Linked DNA regions of Homo sapiens: all the other regions are linked to region 3. The links are contacts of gene promoters, found by promoter capture Hi-C in human tissues and cell types (Jung and others, 2019). All regions are on one chromosome and are shown on one strand. Each heading gives the region's core, a stretch centred on a gene start or on the middle of the fragment in contact. The rest is flanking DNA. Distances are from core to core; before and after follow the strand shown.

Evidence for each region. Contacts are between HindIII fragments. The study calls those that stand out against the background at their distance.
Region 1: a contact is called between a fragment that was not itself captured here and the fragment with the promoter of OR2S2 in region 3, in 2 of the 25 tissues and cell types used here (mesenchymal stem cells and thymus).
Region 2: a fragment that was not itself captured here is called in contact with the fragment with the promoter of OR2S2 in region 3 in 1 of the 25 tissues and cell types used here (mesenchymal stem cells).

What each region holds. Positions count from the first base shown.
Region 1 is chr9:36,340,386-36,344,227 of GRCh38, reverse strand. It overlaps RNF38 (ring finger protein 38), which reads left to right. Exons shown (of 12, transcript NM_022781.5): 11 at 1,804-1,903. Among named protein-coding and RNA genes, the nearest start is that of RNF38, 58 kb to the left of the region's middle. The HindIII fragment of the contact is 3,787 bases long and covers 457-3,842 here.
Region 2 is chr9:36,215,862-36,219,585 of GRCh38, reverse strand. It overlaps GNE (glucosamine (UDP-N-acetyl)-2-epimerase/N-acetylmannosamine kinase), which reads left to right. Exons shown (of 12, transcript NM_005476.7): 11 at 1,287-1,403; 12 at 1,986-3,724. The coding sequence ends at 2,221. Among named protein-coding and RNA genes, the nearest start is that of CLTA, 27 kb to the right of the region's middle. The HindIII fragment of the contact is 7,322 bases long and covers 1-3,724 here.
Region 3 is chr9:35,956,704-35,960,528 of GRCh38, reverse strand. OR2S2 (olfactory receptor family 2 subfamily S member 2) reads left to right here and starts at 2,375. Exons shown (of 1, transcript NM_019897.2): 1 at 2,375-3,421. The coding sequence starts at 2,431. The coding sequence ends at 3,390. The HindIII fragment of the contact is 4,346 bases long and covers 1-3,825 here.

The sequences.
Region 1 (3,842 bases), core at 1,101-3,600, 380 kb before region 3:
GCCTGGCCAACATGGCAAAACCCTGTCTCTACTAAAAATACAAAAATTAGCTGGACATGGTGGCAGGCACCTGTAATCCCAGCTACTCGAAAGGCTGAGGCAGGGAGAATTGCTTGAGCCCAGGAGGTGGAGGTTGCAGTGAGCCGAGATCACACCACTGCACTCCAGCCTGGGTGACAGAGCAAGACTCCATCTCAAAAATAATAATAATTTAAAAAGTACAATTCAGTGGTTTTTTGTATATTCATAGAGCTGTGTAACTATCACCACAATCAAATTTAGACCCATTGCATCACCCTAAAACAAAACCCCTCACCCACTGGCAACACTCGTCATATTTCTACCTCACCTTGGTGCCTCCTCCCCATCCCCAGTCTACACTGTGTCTATATAGATTACACATAAATGGGGTCATACAATATAGGGTCTTTTTGTGTCTAGCATCTTTCACTTAGCATAACTTTTTCTATATTGTAGCTTTTACTGGTAAGTCATTTCTTTTTATGGCCAAATAATATTCCATTGTATAGATCATATTTTTTTTTCGTCGATGGATGGACATTTGGGTTTCCACTTTGGGATTGAATAATGCCAAAGCTAAATAATGGCTTTGAATCACTCTATATTGTCTATTTTTTTTTATTATAGCCAGTCTAGTGATTGTGAAGTGGTATTTCCTGCAGATTTGATTTGCATTTCCCTGATGGCTAATGATCTTGAGTGTGTTTTCATGTGCTACTAGCCATTTGTGTACCTTCTTTCCAGAAATGTCTATTCTGATCCTTGCTTCATTTTCCATAAATTGGTTTGTCTTTGTATTATTGAGTTGTAGAGGTTTTATACATATTATAGATCTCACCAGATAAATTATCTTCAAAAATGTCTTCTCTCAGAACAGGGATCTCTGAGGAATAGAATAATAAAAAGTGTAAAAAAAATGTTTTGCCATTCTGTGGATTGTTGAGTTTTTCAGTGATGTCCTTTGAAGCACAAAATGTTTAAATTTTGATTTTGGTTTATTTCAGCCTACACTAAGCCCTCTGTATTCAACCAACCAAAGATTGAAAATATTCAGGAAAAAATAAAAATAGAAAATAACAATAGAGCAATACATAGTACAAATAAAGAACAATACAGTATAACAACTATTTACATAGCACTTACATTGTATTAAGTATTATAGTGATGATTTTAAAGCATATGGGAGGGTGTGCATAGGTCACAAATACTATACCATTGTATATAAAGGATTTGAACATCTGCAGATTTTAGTATCCATTGCAGGTCCTAGAAATCAATCCCCCTCAAATACTGAAGAACAACTGCATTTCTTTTTTTCTTGTTAATTCTTGTGCTTTTAATGTCATCTCCAAGAAACCATTGTCTAATCCAAGGTCATGAAAATTTACTGTGTTTTCTTCTAAGAGGTTAATAGATCAGCTCTTAACACTTAAGCTTTTGATCCATTTGAGTCAGTTTTTATATATGGTATGAGGTAGGGGTCCACCTTTATTCTTTTGTATGTGGACATCCAGTTCTAATACCATTTTTTTTTAAATAGTATAGAATCTTTGGTATTAAGATTGACTTGATGTTAACTAGAAATTTTCTTGCTAATCTGTCAGCAAAGCAAAACTCTTACTGCCTTAACATCACAATTTTTTCAGGGTATTGGTTGATAATTTTGTTTAAAAATTTAAGTGACGTTTTGATAACAGAATAAATTATCTTGTAGGTTTCAGTAGTCATAACAATAGAAAACCATCTGGTTTTGTGGTTAAATGATCTTTTTGCTTTTTTTAGGTGTGTAGTATGCATGTGTGATTTTGAGTCAAGGCAGCTACTTAGAGTCTTACCCTGTAACCACGAGTTCCATGCCAAGTGTGTTGACAAATGGCTTAAGGTAAAGTGATGACATCTTTAAAGGAAATGACATTGAATTTTCTATTTTATTGACCATGGATTAGAGTAAGTTCATAGCTCAGTGGACAGGAAGGAAGACAAAATGGAAACACAGCTTTCAGTATGATCTCTGCAAATGAGAAAAGGCCAGTAAAAATTAACTGCAGTCAACAACATAGGAGTGACTATACAAAATCCAAAATGGATGACCTCTTGACAATCAGTATGTCCTTTTTCATGGTATATAGGGACAAGGCCCGAACTTGCTAGGCCACAGTTTGAGAGTTTAGAAGGCTACCTAATTATAGCTCTATTTTCAGAGGTTAGCATGGAGAAAAATACATCTAGTGTTTTTATTTAATTCTGACCATTTTCTCCTTTGTATATATGAACAAAAGCACAAAGGACACAAATCCTAAGAGTGGCTATGCCAGAGTGAAATTATTGCAGGGGCTTCTTTATATATATATATATATATATATATATATATATATATATATATATATATATATATATATATATATATATATATTTTGAAACAGGGTCTCAGTGTGTCACCCAGTCTGGAGTGCAGCGGTACAGTCATGGCTCAATGTAGCCTTGACATCCCAGGCTCAAGCGAGACTGGGTGTCACTATGTTGCCCAGACTGGTCTGGAACTCTTGGGCCCAAGCAATCCTCCCACCTCAGCCTCCCAAAGTGTTGGGATTATATACTGCACCTGGCTATTTAATGTTTAAAAAAAAAAGTTTACAAAAGCTGCTTTTTTACTCTTCATAGTTTCATAGTCTCAAATTGTGATACAGTAAAATGTGATACAGTAAAAGAATTTTAATAGGCTGGGTGCAGTGGCTCCATGACTATATAAAAAAAATATAGTCAAATTTATGTTATTTTTTAAATTAAGTGTTCCGGTTTGGATAAAACTAGATAACCTTACTATTTGGTGAGGAAGATAAAGTCAGTTCTGAGGGAGCACAGTTCCAGAGATCTAGTTTAGCCCAAACTCAATCCTGAAGACAAAGAGTCTTAAATTATTTTAAAAGGAAAGCATTATATGTGTAAATCCCTGACACGTGCGGACAGAGAATCAGAAAACCACAAGTTCCGTGTGGCTGATAGTTGGAATGTGAGGAAGAGTGGGAAAAGAAAAGGTGTTCAGAGATAAAATCAATGAGCGGCTTGTTGTGAAGCCACTCTGAAGCGTAAAGGAGTTTAGTGTGATCCTGAAAGCATTTGGGAAGTATATAACAGACTGTTTTATAGAAGGATTTCTGGCCACTGTTCTAATAAAAGAGGTAATTTCTGAGAGACAGGGAGATAGAATAAAGACATGGTGGGCCAGAGAATGGATAGTAGCAACTAGATGAAAAGAGGGACTGATTTGAGAATTACTGTAATGCAGAAATAAGATTATGTGCTGAATAATGGGGTTGTAGGAAGTAGGAGAGCAGGTGATGCTTATGTGTCTGGCATTAGCAACTCCACAAATTATGGTCCCATTTGTTGAAATGGAGAAAGCAAATTTAGGAGCCAGGGAACAGGTGAGTAAGTAGAGCTATCAGTATAGAGTCAGTCACCTATTTTACAATCAAGCTTTCCTCGGTACCACTAAATGTTTTCTGTGACTTCATTCCATTAAGAATAGCCAAGGGGCCAGGAATGGTGACTCAGGCATGTAATCCCAACATTTTGGGAGGCAAAGGCAGGAGGATCATTTGAGGCCTGGAGTTTGAGACCAGCCTGGGCAACTTAGTGAAACCCGTCTTTTAAATTGGTTGGGTGTGGTGGCACACACCTGTTAATCCTAGGTTTTCAGGAAGCTGAAGCAGGAGGATCACTTAGGCCCAGGAGTTCAAGTCTGTAGTGAGCTGTAGTCATGCCACTGTGCTCCTGTGGGCAACAGGGTTTAACCCTGTCTCAAAAAACGGGGGAAAAAA
Region 2 (3,724 bases), core at 753-3,252, 260 kb before region 3:
TGTTTTCTCAGCCAGTATCACAGGGAGGGTACTTAATACACATTTTAATGAAGAAATAAATGGACAAAACATGTTATGTATATATCACACATACATGCACTGTATGTGTAGTATATCTGTGCTTCATACATAAAAACAGTGTAGATTTTTGGCCCCCAAAACCAATTTGTGAGCATATGCTGAAGGAAAAGAGATGGGGAGTGGAGGCCGAGAGTGCAGGAGAGAAGTGTATAGAGCCCTACAGTAGGGTTCTGAAGAGGTGGGAAGAGATGAGCTGCAAAGCCAGGCAGAGGGTCCACGAGAGGGCATGGCGAGCCGAGATGATGGGTGTATGGGACAGGAAGCAAAAAGGTAGGGGATCACTGCCTGGTGGTGCCCCCTATGAGAGAGGTAAGAAGTATGCTCGTCTGTTGGCAGTGGGGGTAGAAGGACTGGGAAGGTGGTGAAGGTATAGAAAAGCGCAGTCAGAGAGAATGGGTGAGAGCTGTGAGGGCCCAGGGGAGACAGGAGACCACCAGTTGATGTCTAGGTTGCAGTTTGCACAGCTGGGGATTTTTCTCCTTCAGGGTCCAGATATTCTAGCAGATTAGTAGGAGGCAGATTGATCTGAGTTGGTGACGGGCAGAAGACAAGGACTACAGATAACCACAGAAATACCTGCTGCTTACTGAGCATTTACTGTGGCCAGCACTTAACTAAATACTTTATGTCCATGATCTCATTCCGTTCCTCAAATAACCCTGCCAGGGGAGGCACTACTGGTCTCATCTTCTAGGAAGGAGGAATGTGTACAGGTGAGGTGACAGGCATGGGGTCATGCAGCTGGGAGTGGCAGAGCTGGCACTGACCCCAGGCCTGTGTCTGTTCCTCAGCCACTGTGCCTCGCTGCCATAGAACGCGTGGCGCTGGCAGATGGCACAGCATTGTGTCTGGGATGAGTAAGGAAGGAGTGAATGTGGGAGGAGGGTGATAATTTGGAGAAAAGAACACTTCAAAGACTGTCTGCTACTGGAAGTGAGAAGTGAGGGAGCCAGAGGGGTAGGAGGCTGTCGTCAGACTTGAGGTTTTTCCAGGAAGATAGGTTCTGGGTTATGTACAACCAATTAGCAAGAGGGTAGCAAAGGCTTTAGGGGCAGTGTATAGAGATGTTTGTGAACGATAAGCTTTGCAATTGTGAAAAGAAAACACCGTCTTCCCATGTAGGGGCTTGCTTTCCACAGGCCCAGTGGTGAGCTTGGCCTCCCCACAGCTCATTAGTGACTGCTTTTCCTTCTCACTCTGTTCAGAGGACCTGCTCTTGGTGGAAGGGATGTCAGTGCCAAAAGATGAGGCTGTGGGTGCGCTCCATCTCATCCAAGCTGCGAAACTTGGCAATGCGAAGGCCCAGAGCATCCTAAGAACAGGTGAGCATGTGGCTGCAGGTGGCTGTGCTGCAGGGGGTGGCCTCAGATATCATATGGCCCAGCCCGGCCCCAGAAGAGACCCTGCTTCCCTAGGGACAGGTGCTTTGCAGTGTCTGTTCAGAGGTTTCTTTCCTAATTACTCAGAGGTAAAAAGGGAATTGGATTCAAGGTATTTGGCAGCATTGCCTTTTTCAGCAGGTGGTTGGTTTGGTTTGACAACTATAAAAATGCTCCTTTCATTTTACAGGAAATTTAGAGAAATATAGGACAGTTGTAAGAAAAAATATCACTTAGTTTTCCCATTTGGAGGTATCAACTATTAACATTTCCTTCGAGTCTTTCTATTCATTTTTTTGCCTAGTGGAGATCATGTGGTACACCCGGCTTTTTCCACTTGAGGCTGTCACATGATCATTTTCTCATATTAAGAATCAACCGTGAACTGCTTTTAAAACACTGCCTCCCACTGCATGCCGTGGATGTTCTTTAACATTTCTGCTGCTGGCTCTTTTCTGCCTTCCTCTTTGGTATTTTGATTTTGGCTTCTCTCAGAAACTCATTTTAATTTTTGTCTCCCTATAGCTGGAACAGCTTTGGGTCTTGGGGTTGTGAACATCCTCCATACCATGAATCCCTCCCTTGTGATCCTCTCCGGAGTCCTGGCCAGTCACTATATCCACATTGTCAAAGACGTCATTCGCCAGCAGGCCTTGTCCTCCGTGCAGGACGTGGATGTGGTGGTTTCGGATTTGGTTGACCCCGCCCTGCTGGGTGCTGCCAGCATGGTTCTGGACTACACAACACGCAGGATCTACTAGACCTCCAGGAACAGACATGGACCTTCTCTCCAGAGCTCCTGAGTGGAATCAAGTTCTTGTCTTTAGGATGACCGTTTCTTAACAATCAAATCTGGTATTGAACTGCAGGTGACTTTGGCAGAGAAATGTTTTCACTTTTGGTCTCCTCTTCCAGAGTCACCTTTCCCCACTCCTATTTTTGTAGATGCTATTCTTTCTGATGTCTTCTTACTAGGGGTCATTTTAGCTCAAACCCTGTAAGTTACAGTCACAATTTTCTGTGCCAAAGCAGCTACAATAATAGAGAGGAAGCCTTCTTAGAACTCTGCTTACTAATGTATTAATACCACTGAGACCTTCAGGCCTTGCCTGGGATATCACTTCATCCTGAAGTTTGCATTAATAATCCTTCCAGGCCGGGCACAGTGGCTCACGCCTGTAATCCCAGCACTTTGGGAGGCCGAGGCGGGCGGATCACGAGGTCAGGAGATCGAGACCGCCCTGGCTAACATGGTGAAACATGGTGAAACCCCGTCTCTACTAAAAATACAAAAAATTAGCTGGGTGTGGTGGCGGGTCCCAGCTACTCGGGAGGCTGAGGCAGGAGAATGGCATGAACCAGGGAGGCGGAGCTGGCAGTGAACTGAGACCGCACCACTGCACTCCAGCCTGGGTGACAGAGCAAGACTCCATCTCAAAAATAATAATAATAAATAATAATAATAATAATAATAATAATAATAATCCTTCCAGCTGGGCGCAGTGGCTCACGCCTGTAATCCCAACATTTTGGGAGGCCGAGATGGGCGGATCACCTGAGGTCAGGAGTTCAAGACCAGCCTGGCCAACATGGTGAAACCCCATCTCTACTAAAATACAAAAATTAGCCGGGCGTGGTGGCATGTGCCTGTAGTCCCAGCTACTCGGGAGGCTGAGGCAGGAGAATTGCTTGAACCCGGGAGGCGGAGGTTGCAGTGAGCCGAGATCATGCCACTGCACTCCACCCTGGGTGACAGAGCGAGACTCCGTCTACACACACACACACACACACACACACATCCTTCCTCCTCTAACCCCAAACTAAGATCACAGAAGGTGATCCAGTCAGAGAACAGAGGGAAATCTTACCAGGAAGGGCTTAAGTACACTTTTTTTTAAAACAGCTTTATTGTTTTTAAAGCCTACAATTTGATAAGCCTTGACATATGTATACCTGTGAAAGCATCACCACAATCAAGACACTGGACATATCTATCACTCCCCCATCTCAGATATCCCCCCTAATCCTGGATACCATTTGTTGAAAGATGTTATTACTCTAGCTGAACTTACAAGAGACTTTAGACCAGGGATCTAAATTACAGTGGCCTTAGTGACCTTGTCCTTATCTTCTTAGGACAGCTGAGAAGCCACTGGGACTTAGAGCCTTTAAAAGGAGATTAACTGTCCCAAAAGGATCTTTGCTACTGACCAGCAGACACTTCTTCCTTCAGTAGCCTTTCATACTGTGTTGAGTAACACCCT
Region 3 (3,825 bases), core at 1,126-3,625:
AAATGTACTCAGCAACTTTTCATAACAGACAGAGGCTTCCACAGAGGCAGCTCTCAAGGAGGCCAAATCCCACGCATCATTCATGCCCACAGGATGTTATTCATGGATAGAAACTTCTGTGTGCATAGATTTATCTTGTGGGAATGCGCAGTGTGGCTTCCCTAACAGAAATCACTTTCCTTGGCCTCTGCAACCACAGCATCTGCTTGAATCTGGTTTGTGGCACTGAATATAATGTTTGCTTTTCTTCATTTTCTGGAGTGGGTGAGAGGTGCACTAGGAGGAACAGGAGATAAGCTGGGGTGGAAGTTCAGGGTGGGGCACTCAGAGGGGGTCAGCTTGCACTGAGCAACCAGGAACACCCTTCTGTGCTGTATGAAGGGATGGGAAGAGGGGAATAGGATTGCACAGGAAATACCTTGAGACCCATGGTTGTGTAATGGGGGAAGCTTCTCCTGGGTTAGACCAATCGTTCTCTTCTGGGTATAATTTTGCACCGTCCCCCCCGCCAACCCCCCCCCCCCCGCCCCAACACACACACCTTTCCCCTGGAAGCATGTGGCAGCGTCTGGAAACATTTTGATTGTTACAACTCAGGGTAGAAGGTGCTATTGGCAACTGATTGGTGGAGGTCAGAGACTCTGCTAAACATCCTACAATGCACAGGACAGCCCTCACACCAAAGGGTTATCCAGCACAAAATGTCAATCGTAAAGAATTTGAGAAACCCTGAGTTCCATTTAGGGTGGGAGGTGCACTGCCTGACAACACATCTGACATAAACCCTCCCCCATGACTGAAGAGAGAGTGTTGGACAGACAGTGAGACTGGCCAGAGAATACACAGAGCTAATTGAGATCATAACAGTGTGTACAAGTTTGACTTTGTCCTTTTAATTTATCATTATGCTATAGCAATATTAGCACAGAGAAAATTATAAATAGGACTATAAGATCTGTCTAATATTGGAGGGACAGAATCTTTTGCAAAGCTGTGCACCAAAAGAGAAAAGCAGCTGTTTCGTGAAAGAACTCAGGACTAGGTCTTGGAATCCAACTCCAGCTCTGCCATTCAACCCCAAGGAGCAAATTTATCTTCTGAGCTCCAGTTACTTCACCTGTAAAACCTGAATGATAATATCTTCTCCATGAGCTGTTTCAAGAAATATGGCACAGCTTATATTCCTTAATATTAGTGAGAATCCCTAATATTCTCACTAATATTAATATTAACCACTCATCTTCCATCATCCACCCACTCTTATACACACTCATAGAGCCACTGTCATTAAGAAGGAGCTATCAAAATATTATCTATGAGTACTTTGAATTTAGAGTCAGGGAAATTGCAAGTAAGAGACTAGATATCCTCTATACAAAGGCATATAAGTCTTCCTATAAGCCAGCTGCTTGCATAGAACTCAAGAATGGAGTCAGAGAGTCAGAAGATAATGCAAGAATAAAATGCAAACATAAAAGGACAAAGAAAAAACATTCTTAGTCATTCACGGTTAGGAATTTCACAGACATCCTAATGAGATGGGATCAGAAGTTAATGCCATATACTCTACTATCGATAACTATAGTTAGAGTGTGGTTATTAATATTGCATTAACTAACTGGTAAGCTACACAGTGTTGTCTCATGGTGTGAGTTCAGTCACTCCAACAAATCCATTTGTTGGCTTCATAAATTTCCCAGCTATAGGACCTCCCCATATATTGCAATAAATCCATATTTCAAATAGGCAGATCTATTCCTGTCAATGCTCAAGCCTGTGTCACTAGACTGAAGAAGTAATGCTCTTTATGGCTGAATATTAACTAGGCTTGTTTCTGTGTGAATATGGTTGAACAATTTTGCGCAATTTCCTCCCCACGTGTAATCAAAGTTTAAAGAAACTTAATCACTTGCTAGGTCCAAGAATTGCATCTTCTTGGGAATTTTCCTCTCTGAGAATCTAAGAAAGCCCAGATCAAATGAAATTGCTGTGGATTTGCATTAAAGAGAAATAATTCATAGCATTTCCTAGCACTTAATCACAATGAAGAGGAAAAGCCCTCCTTGGGCCAGGGATATGCTCTGCTGGGTTCAAGTCTTGTCTCTGTCACCAACTTGCTCAGAAGATTTGGACAGGTCACTTCTCCTCCCCAGGCCTCTATCACCTTTGTGGACACTGAGAGGGTGCAGCAACTTCAGAAAAATCCCTCATGCACAACCGGACATTTGAGGCCCTCACCCACTACCTGTCCAGCTCTGACCTTCTGTCTTCTAAGACACCCCCTACTGTCTCTTTCCGTCATTTTTCTCTTGCACAGATATGTTCTTCTATTATGCAATGGGAACTTGACCACATATTAGATGCCTAGGACTCTTCCCAAAAAGCCTGATGCGCTGCTCAGTACTTTGCTGATGGCAGAGGGGATATCACATGGAAAAAGCCAATGAGACCTCCCCTGTGATGGGGTTCGTTCTCCTGAGGCTCTCTGCCCACCCAGAGCTGGAAAAGACATTCTTCGTGCTCATCCTGCTGATGTACCTCGTGATCCTGCTGGGCAATGGGGTCCTCATCCTGGTGACCATCCTTGACTCCCGCCTGCACACGCCCATGTACTTCTTCCTAGGGAACCTCTCCTTCCTGGACATCTGCTTCACTACCTCCTCAGTCCCACTGGTCCTGGACAGCTTTTTGACTCCCCAGGAAACCATCTCCTTCTCAGCCTGTGCTGTGCAGATGGCACTCTCCTTTGCCATGGCAGGAACAGAGTGCTTGCTCCTGAGCATGATGGCATTTGATCGCTATGTGGCCATCTGCAACCCCCTTAGGTACTCCGTGATCATGAGCAAGGCTGCCTACATGCCCATGGCTGCCAGCTCCTGGGCTATTGGTGGTGCTGCTTCCGTGGTACACACATCCTTGGCAATTCAGCTGCCCTTCTGTGGAGACAATGTCATCAACCACTTCACCTGTGAGATTCTGGCTGTTCTAAAGTTGGCCTGTGCTGACATTTCCATCAATGTGATCAGCATGGAGGTGACGAATGTGATCTTCCTAGGAGTCCCGGTTCTGTTCATCTCTTTCTCCTATGTCTTCATCATCACCACCATCCTGAGGATCCCCTCAGCTGAGGGGAGGAAAAAGGTCTTCTCCACCTGCTCTGCCCACCTCACCGTGGTGATCGTCTTCTACGGGACCTTATTCTTCATGTATGGGAAGCCTAAGTCTAAGGACTCCATGGGAGCAGACAAAGAGGATCTTTCAGACAAACTCATCCCCCTTTTCTATGGGGTGGTGACCCCGATGCTCAACCCCATCATCTATAGCCTGAGGAACAAGGATGTGAAGGCTGCTGTGAGGAGACTGCTGAGACCAAAAGGCTTCACTCAGTGATGGTGGAAGGGTCCTCTGTGATTGTCACCCACATGGAAGTAAGGAATCACAATCACATCAGCTGCCATTCAAAAGCCAAGTCATGTGACCTATAATGGTTTCTCACTCTAAGTCCATTTGCAGGAGATATTAAACTTTTCAGACGATATCTCCTGAGTTTTAGTCCTATGTCTGACAGCTTCAACAGACACCAGACTCAATAAATAATCAACTGTGATGAAGGCATTCTGAACATACGGTAAAACCACACGAGACAGCAGCCATGAAAGCATGACGCATGGCCCTTAGAGTGTCTCAGCTCTAGAGTTAGAACAGGGACGTGAGAATGTTCTCACAGCAACTTACCAGCCCTACTGGATTCACCAGGGAAATCAGAGAAATAAGGAGGGAGTGGAAACTTTTACTGAGGCTTCAGTTTATTACACTCAGTTTGCC